Regions from separate parts of the Homo sapiens genome. Here region 2 is linked to region 1. The links are contacts of gene promoters, found by promoter capture Hi-C in human tissues and cell types (Jung and others, 2019). All regions are on one chromosome and are shown on one strand. Each heading gives the region's core, a stretch centred on a gene start or on the middle of the fragment in contact. The rest is flanking DNA. Distances are from core to core; before and after follow the strand shown. Region 1 holds the start of GOT2 (glutamic-oxaloacetic transaminase 2). Region 2 has its middle 530 kb from the start of LINC02141.

The links. The method cuts DNA at HindIII sites, captures the fragments that hold promoters and counts their contacts. A contact is called where the count stands out against the background at its distance.
Region 2: a fragment that was not itself captured here is called in contact with the fragment with the promoter of GOT2 in region 1 in 2 of the 25 tissues and cell types used here (heart left ventricle and mesendoderm cells).

Annotation. Positions count from the first base shown.
Region 1 is chr16:58,729,408-58,735,885 of GRCh38, forward strand. It overlaps GOT2 (glutamic-oxaloacetic transaminase 2), which reads right to left and starts at 4,909. Exons shown (of 10, transcript NM_002080.4): 1 at 4,733-4,909. The coding sequence starts at 4,821. RefSeq lists silencers at 4,234-4,323, 4,424-4,513 and enhancers at 4,636-5,254, 4,954-5,033. The HindIII fragment of the contact is 7,339 bases long and covers 1-5,063 here.
Region 2 is chr16:59,320,635-59,327,191 of GRCh38, forward strand. No RefSeq gene overlaps it. Among named protein-coding and RNA genes, the nearest start is that of LINC02141, 530 kb to the right of the region's middle. RefSeq lists a silencer at 389-593. The HindIII fragment of the contact is 4,925 bases long and covers 2,699-6,557 here.

The sequences.
Region 1 (6,478 bases), core at 3,659-6,158:
TCCCAGCTACTCAGGAGGCTGAGGTGGGAGGGTCACTTAAGCCTAGTGTTTGAGACAAGCCTGGGCTACATAGAGACCCTGTCTCAGGAAGAAAAAAAAAAAAAAAGAAAAAGAAAAAGAAAAAACAATGGTCTGTATCCTCCAAGACCCTCAATCATAACAAAGCCACTGCCCATTGCTCCCTACCACAAGGAGAGAAAGCATCATTCTTGTTAAATGGTGTGAAAAGCACTTATTTTTCAAGTTCTTTAAAATGTTAAGCATAGAAACTCAGAAACCATAGACTTGTGTCTTCTGGTATACCTTTTAAGAATTCTTTTTTTTTGTTTTTGTTTTTGCTTTGGAAAATGACATGTTTTTATCGCTATGTTTGCACAGTAAGAATGTCCCCGCAGGCCCACCACCCTCCCTCAGCCCCAGCCCTCCAGCCTCTGTCTTTTAAGAATTCTAAACACAATTTCAAAATACTGAATTTTTAAACAATCTAAATATAGGAGCAGGGATACTCAATTTTTTTTTTAAAAATGTAATAAATTATGTTCATTTTACAATTACAATGCTAGTTTTGAGATTGAAAATGAAGTACAGATTAAAGAACACAGGTATGAAAACTATGTATCTATTGCTTGAGACAAGTTTATAATCCAGATCACAAGGAAAGTTATTCTTAGCCAGAGAGAGAGGAAGGGGTTGCCTAGCTAGGGAACACTGACAATTTATGGAGACATTTCTGTTTGTTGAAACTCTGGGGGAAAGCAGGTGCTACTAGCATCTGAAGGGCAGAGGCATGGGAGGTTTTTTTAACTTTTATTTCAGGTTCACGGGTACATGTGCATGTCCTGGGGGTTTGGTGTACAGATAATTTCATCATCTGGGTAATAAGCATAGTACCTGACAGTTATTTTTTCTGATTCTCTCCCTCTTCCCATTCTCTACCCTCAGGTAGGCTCCAGTGTCTGTTGTTCCCCTCCTAGAGGGATACAATTTTTTTTTTTGAGACAGGGTCTCACTCTGTCACCCAGGCTAGAATGCAGTGGCGTGACCACGGCTCACTGCAGCCTCTACCTCCCGGGCTCAAGTGATCCTCCCCGAGTAGCTGGGACTATGGGTGTGTGCCACCGTGCCTGGCTAGTTTTTTGTAGAGATGGGGTTGTGCCATATTGCCCAGGTTGGTCTCCAACTCTTGAGCTCAAGTGATCCTCCTACCTTAGCATCCCAAAGTGCTGAGATTACAGGTGTGAGCCACGGCACCTGGCCTAGAGGGAATACTCAATTTGATTAGCCCCACATTAGTAACCATCTTTCAACTCCTCCATGCCTTTCATTATTCCATTTCTTAAAATGGTAAAGACTACACACATATTGTAAGAACTCTGATGTTTTTAAAGGAATCGAGTAGATGAAAATAGGAGTGTTCTAGGGGCAAAACTCATGCTGATAACCTGTGACCTAGAAAGTGATTTCTATCAGTACATTTTGGATACAGGCACAAAGCCTCAAACATTGAGCAATATTGACTGGTCATCCAAGAGAGGTTAGGTACCAAGTATTCAGGTAAGCCTTTCCAATCGAAACGCATTGTAATTTCCCTGGAGCTTAAGCCTACTTAAAGTTTTACAGTTTTTAAACTGCTTTTCCTCACATTCTTCTTACTTTAAAATCAGAAGGGAAGTTAATTAGCTTGCCCACAATCACAGAGCTAAAAATGGCAGAGACAATAGCACAGCTGTGATCTTTTTTTTTTGAGACACAGTCTTGCTTTGTTGCTCAGGCTGGAGTGCAGCGGCGTGATCAGCGGGCTCACTGCAACTCTTCACCTCTCAAGCGATCAGGCTCGAGCGACCCTCCCACCTCAGCCTCCCAAGTAGCTGGGACTCCAGGTGCACATCACCATGCCCGGCTAATTTTTGTATTTTATGTAGAGACGGGGTCTTGCCATGTTGCCCAGCTGGTCTAGAACTCCCGAGCTCAAGCAATCCACCTGCCTCAGCCTCCCAAAGTGCTAGAATTACAGGTGTGAGCTACTGTGCCTGGTCTGTGATCTTTTAACCAATGGTTATGGTACCACAGTTGCACACTGCATTTTTAAAGTCTCACGAGACCTGCTCAGTTATTTCACCAAAAAGTAAATAATCAGAATTAAATAATTAAAAGCAAATCATTATAAATCAAAATACATTAGCATCTTTTTTTTTCTTCATTGAACTGCAACTATGTCTGATCTCATGTCACTATACATTTACAGTACAAGTCAACAAGAGAAAGTTTTATTCGCAGTGTTTAGCTAAATGATACACTTGAACTTACAAAGAGTTCCACATATTTACAAAGAGTTCCAAGTATGCCATTGGATAAATCCTCAGTTCTTCAGAATAACAACAGACAAGGTTTTATTGTATTAGAATGAGCCATTTAAATAGAAATGTCGATGAATTCAGTTTAAGTATTTTCCACTTTTACCATTTGGAGCTAGGTAAAGATCACTTCCACAGTGTAAGGAGGGAAGTCTGATCTTGCCTGAAGAGTTAACCTTCATGCCAAATATGGCATCTGATTCTGTCACCTAATCAGGTATCATTATTTAAATCTGAAGAGTAATTCCTCAACATTAGGTGCTCAACTATTTCAAGAATTTATTTTCTGGTCAGGTGGGGTTGCTTAGCCTATAATCCCAGCGCTTTGCGGGGCTGATGTGGGAGGAGTCTGAGACCAACACAGGGAGACTCTGTCTCTACAAAAAATAAAAAATTAGCTGGGTGTGGTGGTGTATGCCTGCAGTCCCAGCTACTTGGGAGGCTGAAGCAGGAGGACCACTTGAGCCTGGAAGGTCAGGCTGCAGTGAGCCATGATTGTGCCACTGCACTCCAGCCTGGGCAACACAGTGAGACCCTGTATTTAAAGAAAAAAAAAAAGGGAATTTTTTTTGGTACATATTTTGCAGCACTGTGGTTCCCCTGTGTAAGATTAGTCGAGAGAAGGAACAATAAAATCTGTAACTGGTTATGATCAATTAGTTGTAAACACCATTACACTTGGACCAGCCTATGTTCAGATTTTGATCTAAGATACAACATTAAAATGTCATACTGTATTTGTTTCCGTTGCATTACGTGAAAAATCAGGGCTTAAAATAAAAATATCCAATATAAGAGACATGCCAGCAACTGTTAATAGTGCTGAGATGTAACAGTGAATATAAAGTAGGTAAAGTCTCCGCTCTCATGGAACTTACATTCTAGTAAGAAAAATACAGAAAAGAAAAATGAGTCAGACTCTCAAACTGAAAGAATGACTAACCCTGACCCCAAGGGATTTTCACCAAGCACTAGAGCTTCAGGTGATCTAGCCAAATCCATAAAACAAGGTATTATTTTAAGATTACTGCAATAGGGAAACATACTTTCTCTTGACGGAAATTTTAAGCACTCCTTTGGTTTTCCAAATTTGTTGCATAAATAACTCCTCCTGGCTCTGGCCCACTAGGTAGGCAGACTTAAAGAGCACACGTTGACAGTGGGCCAGGAAGGAGCCAAGTCAGGAAGAGAAAAAAGTGCGAAGCCTGGGCAAAACTGTACTGCCAAGGCTGTGGGGCCTTGGAAAGGACAGATAGTTCTGCTGGCTGAAAGACACAGAGCATACATTCAAACGAAAGGCCAAGCTACGCTTTGCTCCTTGCAGTTAATACCTGCTTGGGGGTGGTTTTAAAACTCAGTTCCTTATTAAGGTAGTGCTTAAGGAGAGTGCTCCAAATCGGCTTCTTGAGTTGAATTAATCTTCTGGCTCCGGTCTCCACTGGGAATGAATTACTAGAGCTCGTTTCAAGCTCTGAAATTTCCCTCCATACTATTATACACGCCACAGTACGAAATTACGTTTGTCATTTTTTGAGCAATGACCATTTGTCATTGTCCTTCCCTCGCCTTGTTCACAGTTGTATCGTTGGCATCTGGTCCAGAGCCTGGCTCTGAGAAACTGCAGTTACGAAATATTTACTGAATGAAAGAGCACAGGGAGATGGAGAGGAAGATTGATAGCCTCCCTGCAACCGGACCTCCTTAGGGGCAATAAGGAAAAAACAAAACAAAACAAAAAAAGAGACACACTACACCTCGACCCTTTCCCAAGCAAAGGCCAAACGGGCCCCGGGGTCACAGGGACCTCGGGGGGTCGCAAGGTCAGGAGAATGCCGCACGCCAAGGTCGCAGGTGCGGGAAGGAAAGCGAGGCCCGAATGCCGGCGCCCCGGAAACCTTCCTCTCGCGCTCTTCCCGCCCAGGGCACACACGCGGCAGCCAGCCGCCGCCGGCCCACCGACTCGGGCGGGCCGGGGGCCAGGACAGGTGCGCCCGCCGCCCCCAGGGCACCCTATCAAGGGCACGGTCGTTACCCGGCGCCGCTGCCCCAGTACTATCCGCACCCCTCCCACTGAATGGGAGTCCGGCAACCGCCGAGGGCCACACTTCCTTTCCCTAGGGATTGCGTTGCACGCCTTCCTGCAGGGCCCAGTGCGGGGACCAGAGGGATGTGGGATCCTGAGGATCACTGTGGGGCACGGACGCTCAATCCTCAGTCCCCAGTAAGGGAAAGCCGAGGGGGTGGCAGAAAAGTGTGTGTGTGTGCGTGTGAGTGACAGTGTGTATTTGGGGGCCGGGAGGGGTGAATGTCCTGGGGTGCTCGCAGCTCGGCGGGGCAGGGCCATCGCCCTGGCTCCATCTCCGTTTCCCTTGGCTTACCTGGCTCTGGCAGAGGCCGCGGCGGCGAGGCCCGGGTGGAAGGCGGCGGCGATCCCGGGGAGGACGCGGCCGGAGTGCAGCAGGGCCATGGTGGACCGTAGGAGGGCAGTGGGCAGCCGCAGGACGGAGCAGAGGGCGAGCGGACACACACACAGGGAACCGGCTCCTGCTGAAGGTAAGGACAGGGACTTCCCTGGGCCAGAGCGGCCGCGTGCTGGGCCCGAGCCACGTCACAGCGATCCCTGGCGGCCGGCGGGCGGAGCGGCGTGGGCTCAGCGGAGGTCGTGGAAGAGGATGACTGCACAGTTTACCTACGCCCAGCCCTTGCTGCGCTTCATTCATTTAATCCAGCTGGGCCAGGCCTGGCCGGCCGAAGAGGTGGCTGCTGTTATGGCAGTTTGAAAGATGAGAAAATGTAGGCTGACATAGTTGACGTATTTTGTCTGATGCCTTACAGCCATTAGGACCCAAGGTGGCCTTACTTTCAACCCTAATAGTTTCCCTAAGCACAAGTCATGTCACGTCGTTCCTGAATGTTTCCTTATCCCCCACCCTTTTTTTTTTTTTTTTTTTTTTGAGATGGAGTTTCACTCTGTCACCCAGGCTGGAGTGCAGTGGCGTGATTTCGGCTCACTACAACCTCTGCCTCCCAGGTTCAAGCGATTCTCCTGCCTCAGCTCCCCGAGTAGCTGGGTTACAGGTGCCACCACCACGCCCGGCTAATTTTTGTATTTTTAGTAGAGACGGGGGTTTCACCATGTTGACCAGTCTGGTCTCAAACTCCTGATCTCAAGTGATCTGCCCGTCTCAGTCTCCCAAGACTGCTAGGATTACAGGCATGAGCCACCGCACCTGGCTTCCTTATCCCTTTTATGGAGAGGGTCGCATGTGTATTTTGTGGGGCAGTTGTGAGGATTAATAAGATTAGCAGATTATGTCTAAAACAGGGCCTGATTTAGTAAGCACAAAATAACCCATGGTCATTAATGACAAACTCGTGTATGTCAAATCCTGATAACTGTTTGTGGAAGGAAATGAATCGGTTTTGAAGGAAATGAATCGGTTTTAAAGGAAAAAGCAAATGAATTTCAGACACATCCACAAGTCAAACGAGTCTTTCTCATGTGTAGTCTATTTCTCTGATACTCGTCTCTTAAACCAAGGTAGGGGCCCGGTGTGTTGGCTTATGCCTGTAAACCCAACACTTTGGTAGACTGAGGCAGGAGGATAGCATGAAAACAAGAGTCTGAGACCAGCCTGGGTAACAAGATGAAACCCCCATCTCTTAAAAAAATAAAAAAAAATTAGCAGGATGTGGTGTTGCGTGCCTGTTCCAGCTACTCAGAAGGCTGAGGAGGGAGGATTGCTTGAGCCCATTAATTCAAGAGTGCAGGCCGGGCGCGGTGGCTCACGCCTGTAATCCCAGCACTTTGGGAGGCCGAGGCAGGCGGATCACGAGGTCAGGAGATCGAGTCCATCCTGGCTAACCCTCTCTCTACTAAAAAAATACAAAAAAAAAGTAGCCGGGCATAGTGGCGGGCGCCTGTAGTCCCAGCTACTCGGGAGGCTGAGGCAGGAGAATGGCATGAACCCGGGAGGCGGAGCTTGCAGTGAGCCAAGATCGCGCCACTGCACTCCAGCCTGGGCAACAGAGCCAGACTCCGACTCAAAAAAAAAAAAAAAAAAAGAGTGCAGTGAGCCAGGATTGCGCTACTGCACTCCAGCCTGGGTAACAGAGTGAGACGC
Region 2 (6,557 bases), core at 3,911-6,410, 590 kb after region 1:
ACTTTAAGAATGCAAATCTGATAATGCAGCCACCCTGCTTCAAAACCTTAAGGAGTTCACTCTTGCTTTCTAGATGAAGTTCAAATTTCTTAGCTTAGTGCTCAGGCTATTTTAGATTTAGGCTCCAACTACTGCCAATCTCATCTGACATTCTTTCATGTTGCGTGGTTCACTGCAGTTGGAGTGAGCTACTAGAGGCAGCACATTTGCATGACACTGGAGCCCCTCTTTTGTTTCCTCTAATGCTCACTGATATTTCAAAAGTAACTCTAGGGTTGTCACTTTTTCCTAAATGCCTTTCTTGACACCCTACCTGACCTGGCTACATTTGGGTTCTCTTTTCTCTGTTCCCATAGATACCTGAATAAACAGCCTGAAGAGTAATTATAGGGCTGGGCATGGTGGCTCATGCCTGTAATCCCAGCACTTTGGGAGGCTGAGGCAGGGGGATAATGAGGTCAGGAGTTCGAGACCAGCCTGGCCAATATGGTGAAACCCTGTATCTACTAAAAATACACACATAAGCCGGGCATGGTGGCGTGCGCCTGTAGTCCCAGCTACTCAGGAGGCTGAGGCAGAAGAATTGCTTGAACCCAGGAGGCGGAGGTTGCAGTGAGCTGAGATCATGCCACTACACTCCAGCCTGGGTGACGAGTGAAACTCCGTCTCAAAAAAAAAAAAAAGATTAATTATAACTACCTGTTGAAATACAATGACATTCATAATTTTAGACAAGGAAAGGGAAGGGAAGGTTAAAATAGGATTAATAACAAAAATATATCAGCCCGGATAAAAAGGAAATTAAAGAAAAATTAAAGATAACATCATAATTTTTTATGAATATTTTGCAGATCCAGTGAGAATTACTGTAGGACATTTCTTGAACATACTTGCCCAGCCTTACTTTGTGCAAATATTATTGAGAAGGTGAAAAATAAGCAGAAGGTCTAGGCTATGCATGCATATATAACATAATACTAAAATTAATAATTGATCACATTTATTGAGTGTTTACTATGCTGGCCACTTTTCATACATTGCCTTTGAAGCTTGTGATGAGCAGTAAAATATGCTTCCTTTATGCAGATGAGAAAACTGACACAGTGCAAACTGTGTCAGATCTTGAAGTCAACGAGAAGAAGAATTGAGAGTAAAACTCGTGTCTACTTGATCCCTAGTGGTTACAGGGATAACGTTGAAGATACCTTAGTGAATCAACAAAGGTGAGGTCAGCTGCGATGAAAACCTCCAATGTGATTTGACCAACCTGTATTATTCAGTATAACCAAACCTAAGGGGAGAATAGGCTAACCTGATGTCTCTTTAAATGTCCTGCTTATTATATGATTCCAACAACCACTGAGAGACTATAATTCATTGGAGGGAGTGGGGAAGGAGTCTTTATACGAACATAATATATTTCAGTGATCCTTCAATTTGGGTTTTTCTAGCCAACTGTGGGGAGAGATCCATTCTCTTTAATTCTTGTATCCCTAAAGTCAAATTTAGTAGGTACCACATGGAAGAAAGTCAATGTTTCTTAAATGGTTTTGAATGAGTGTAGTTTATCACTCTTTTTGGTAGAATCCAGTGCTAAATGAAAAGTTTAGAGCTCTCTTGACAGTAGATTTCTAGATTTAAAAGAAATGTAAGAGTTAGATAATTCAATACCTTCATCTTATAGGTGAGGAGACTGAGATTGATGGGGGCAGCTGACAAAACTAAGGTCACACAGTAAATTAGTGACCAATTCACACTTACAAACCATGCTTCCAGCTTAGCCACCATCATACCTTCTTGCTCTTTTGCAGTTTAGTTTCCTCAGAACTGAATAGCTCTTAGACTGATAGCATTGATATTGATGTGGGATCTTGGTGTTCAAATAGCCCACCCTCTCATGCATTAAATAACACCTTTGCATACTTCTCTGCTCATTTTAGGGTCTCAACACCAAGAATTGTAACTGGAGAAGTGTCTTTTTTACTTGTGCCCAGGATGATGGCAGAAAGGCAGTGCATGGAGCCTGTTGTTCAGGATTCCCACTGAGAGTCAAAACAATGGGCATTGCCTGAAAAGGTTTCCTAAGATTTTTGGCTACAGCGTTTCAAACCAAAATGTTGAGATGTGGCATATGGCCAATATTTATAGCCCGCTTAGCCAGTGAACCTTTACAGAGCTATTACCAGAAGGATTTTCATGATTAATACCATCACAATACGAAGGAAATTTATTTGAGAAATAAACCCTTGGGCTCAGTAAACAAAAACACAAGCACATCCAGAAGCCTGAGTTACCTTTGCCAAATTCTCTCCCATCATCAGGCAAATGCCCAAAGAAACCCTGACTTCCAGCCAACATGGGTTCCATAGAGAAATATGGAAGCTTCTGTTTTAACTTTCTTCTTCCTTTCATGACTGCCTTTTAAGAAATATTTACAGAAAAAGTTTATAGATTTGTATTCCTAAATCTATAGTATTATAGATAGAGTTCTTAGATTTTGGAAGATAGGGACATATGATCAAATTTTTAATGAAATACTCTGATTCAGTCAAGATGCCAGTGTCTCTTCACATTGCTGAGACCTAGAGACACTCAGAGACAGAGGGCAATTTTCCTGGGTATAATCATGACTCTTTGAACTGGGGTCAGCTAAAAACACTTCAGTCTATTTAGTTCTCTTCCCCAAACCACTTTTCCTTCATTGCAACAATATGTTCCTCATGTGAGGAGAGCGGATCTTTTCAATCCATGTACAATATGGAAATTCATAAGAGAGGCTGCCCAAGTAAAGTTTAACAAACAGCGGTGTACTACAGATGGCTTATGAGAGCTAACTGTTAAGTTTTCAGGAATCTTGAGAGCCAATTGCTAGCCATGGTAGGAGTATTGACAACATGGAAAGTGTCAAACACAACAAATCAGGGCTTTTTGCTTTGTTGAGTATCCCACTGGAAAGTGTTTGTATATTAATTCATTCCTTCAAGGCTGTGTTAAATGCTACCTCCTTTTTAAAGCTTTCTGTGACCCACCCAGGTAGTCTTAACCTCTCTCCCCTAAACTCCCAGTAATACTGTATTTTGAACTCCTTTTAGGAGATGCATCATTTTCAACCACAAAGCATGGAGGTTCATTCCCATTCACATACTTTATATTCTTTCTGGTATATCAGTTTATTGGGTATTGGATTGCTATATGATTTTTTAAAAACATCCTGTAGTTAGCATGATGCCCAGCAGGTTTGGCAGGCAGAAAATATTTTGCAAATTAAGTCGATAAAACATTAGCACAACAGTGATCCAAGACTTTACTTAAGCTCAATTATACCATTGCTGTCATTAAAATCTGAGTTGTCATTCTACCAGTGGAAGCCATGGCAGCATCAGGATGTTGATACGACATGTCATCCAAGAAAGGCGGGAGTAGGTGTGAAGAGGAGGCTCTCAGCCCCTGTACTTTAGCTTCTGTGGAGATAAACTCCTTATCTTTTAAAGGCTGGTCACTTGCTCTAGTTTTTTGTTTGTTTGTTTATTTTTGTTTGTTTTCTTTTTTGAGAGAGAACCTTGCTCTGTCGCACAGGCTGGAGTGCAGTGGCATGATCTTGGCTCACTGCAACCTCCGCCTCCTGGGTTCAAGCGATTCTCCTGTCTCCAAGCGATTCTCCTGTCTCAGCCTCCCAAGTAGCTGGGATTACAGGTGAACGCCACCATGCCTGGTTAATTTTTGTATTTTTGTAGAGAAGGGGTTTCACAATGTTGGCCAGGCTGGCCTAGATCTCCTGACCTCAAGTAATCCACCCCCCTTGGCCTCCCAAAGTGCTGGGATTACAGGCATGAGCCACCGCGCCTGGCCTCTAATTCTTTAGTTATAAAATTGCTCTCACTAGGGAAGAGGGCAGAAGAGGATATGCCGTCTTGTGCTTTCAAAACATCAATTATTTCAGGAAGTACAGAATATAATGAGAGTAAACATTTTGGCGAGATAGGACAGCTGTCTGCATGTTTAAAGAAAGGAGAAGGATTCAGAGAAGAGTGAATGATTAAAATTTTGGTGAGTCATTCCTTCAGTCATTCACTGAACTAACATGTTATTGGGTGAATAATACATGCTAGACATTCTTTCAGGGACTGGGGATACAAAGATAAATAAGAAGTTATGCATCCCTTTGGAAATCAAAGACTATTAGAAGAAGTCGAAGGTGGAGGAAATATATTTAGGAAGAGATTTCATCAAGATTATGGGAAATTTAAGAATGGTAAATTAAAAGACCAACAGAAAAACAGTTTTAAAGTGAAATGTGTTATGTCTAATGGAGAAATAGACAAAAAACTTTTTTGTATAATTAGAGTTGAGACAGAGAGAGAGAAGGGGTGGCGGGAGAGAGAGAGAAAATGACTATGGGTTTGAATAAATCCCTTATTCCTCTTGCCCAAATTTAGACTTCCAAAGGTATATGTAGATGCTATCTATACCCAGTGGAGCCATTAGTGCTGAAGAGCTCAGCTGCATGGCTAGTAATTAGGAAGAGGCAATGAGGAAACCTGTTTCCCTGAGGTCTTCACCCTACTTCACTCCCACAACTTCAATCTGCCCAGTTGTGCCATGGAGACAGCTACAGCAATTCCATTCCGATAGTGGCACAAAATAAATCACTGGAAACCGTTTTGCACTTGCCCAGAGACTTTCAAGAGAGAATCTCAAAGTGGATCTGGGCTGCTGTGTGCCACAAAGAGGACCAACATTTCTCTTTGGCTTTAAAGGATGTCCCATTGTGAGAATGAACTTTGGGTTTTATCTCTCCCTTTGAAATAGAATACATCAGAGTGAGACATCTAAAGGCAAAGACACAATGATCCCCAATCCAAAGCCAAGTTCAAAAACACAGAGATGAGTTGTGTTATTATGAAATTGTATTTGCTGGCTGAGATGGGGGACAAAGAAAGATTAAGTTGCTAACAGAAAATGGGTCTTGAAATTCCTATTAGTCTCGTGCCCCAGGGCACAAACTTTTTCAGCTAGACAGTTACTTTTTAGAAGTATGGGAGCAATGGCACGGGTGGCGCTTGAGGCTTCCCTTTCCTCTCATTCTGAAATGTACAGAATTATTAATGTGAGATTTATTAATGATTGGATGATGGATGAGGAAAATTAGTTTTAGAAAGTTGTTAGCATTGAGAATTGTTTCCTTTAGGAGGCCCAAGTTCATACTATGAGGGGTGCCTCAAGTGTTAGGTTTTATAAGTACAGCAATAACTTTCCGCATACCAACTTCTTAAAGCATATATCTAAGTAAGATATACCTACCTAATTGTAACTGTGCTTTAAACCTGACATTTCAGTTAGATTATATATACATCAATCATGTTAAAGGATAAATGCTTTCTAGCCCAGCTGGATTTCAGTACAGAGAAAAGCATTTCAAATTCATTCATTCATTTTTTTCTGCTTGTCATCTATTACCCTGTCTACTTTTTGTTATAGTAATACTAAAACAGTTTTTTTTTTTAAAATTCATTCTACATTCAACACGTATTTACTGAGTATCTACCATGGGACAGGTAAATTTTTAAAAAAATTTTGTGGGTACATAGTAGGCATATAGATCTATGGGATACATGAGATGTTTTGATACAGGCATGCCATGTAAAATAAGCGCATCATAGAGAATGGGATACCCATTCCCTCAAGCATTTATCCTTTGAGTTACGAACAATCAAATTACACTGTTTATTTTATTTTATTTTATTTTATTTATTTATTTGAGACGGAGTCTCTCTCTGTCTCACAGGCTGGAGTGCAGTGGCGCGATCTCTGCTCACTGCAAGCTCCGCCTCCCAGGTTCGCGCCATTCTCGTGCCTCAGCCTCTCGAGTAGCTGGGACTACAGGCGCCCACCGCCACGCCCGGGCTAATTCTTTTGTATTTTTAGTAGAGACGGAGTTTCATTATGTTAACCAGGATGGTCCCAATCTCCTGACCTCGTGATCCGCCTGCCTCGGCCTCCCAAAGTGCTGGGATTACAGGCTGAGCCATCGCGCCCGGCAACTTACTTCCTTTCTTTTGGGCATATACTCAGCAATGGGATTGCTGGATCATATGGTAGCTCAATTTTTAGTTTTTTGAGGAATCTCCAAACTGGTCTCCATAGTGGTTGTACTAATTTACACCCCCACCAACAATGTACAGGGGTTGTCTTTTCTCCACATTCTTGACAGAATTTGTTATTGTCTGTCTTTTGGATACACTGAATAGTATACTGATCATCATCTGACGATCAACGATGTTGAACACTTTTTCAAATGCCTGTTTGCCACTTGTATGTCTTCTTTTGAGAAATGTCTACTCAAATTTGTTGCCCATTTTTTTATTGGATTATTACATTTTTTCCCTACAGAGTTGTTTGAGCTCCTTATATATTCTGGTTATTAATCCCTTGTCAGATGGGTGGTTTGAAAACATTTTTTTCCATTCTGTGGGTTGTCTCTTCACTTTGTTGGTTTTATCCCCTGCTGTGCAGAAGCTTTTTAACTTGATGCGATCCCACTTGTCCATTTTTGCTTT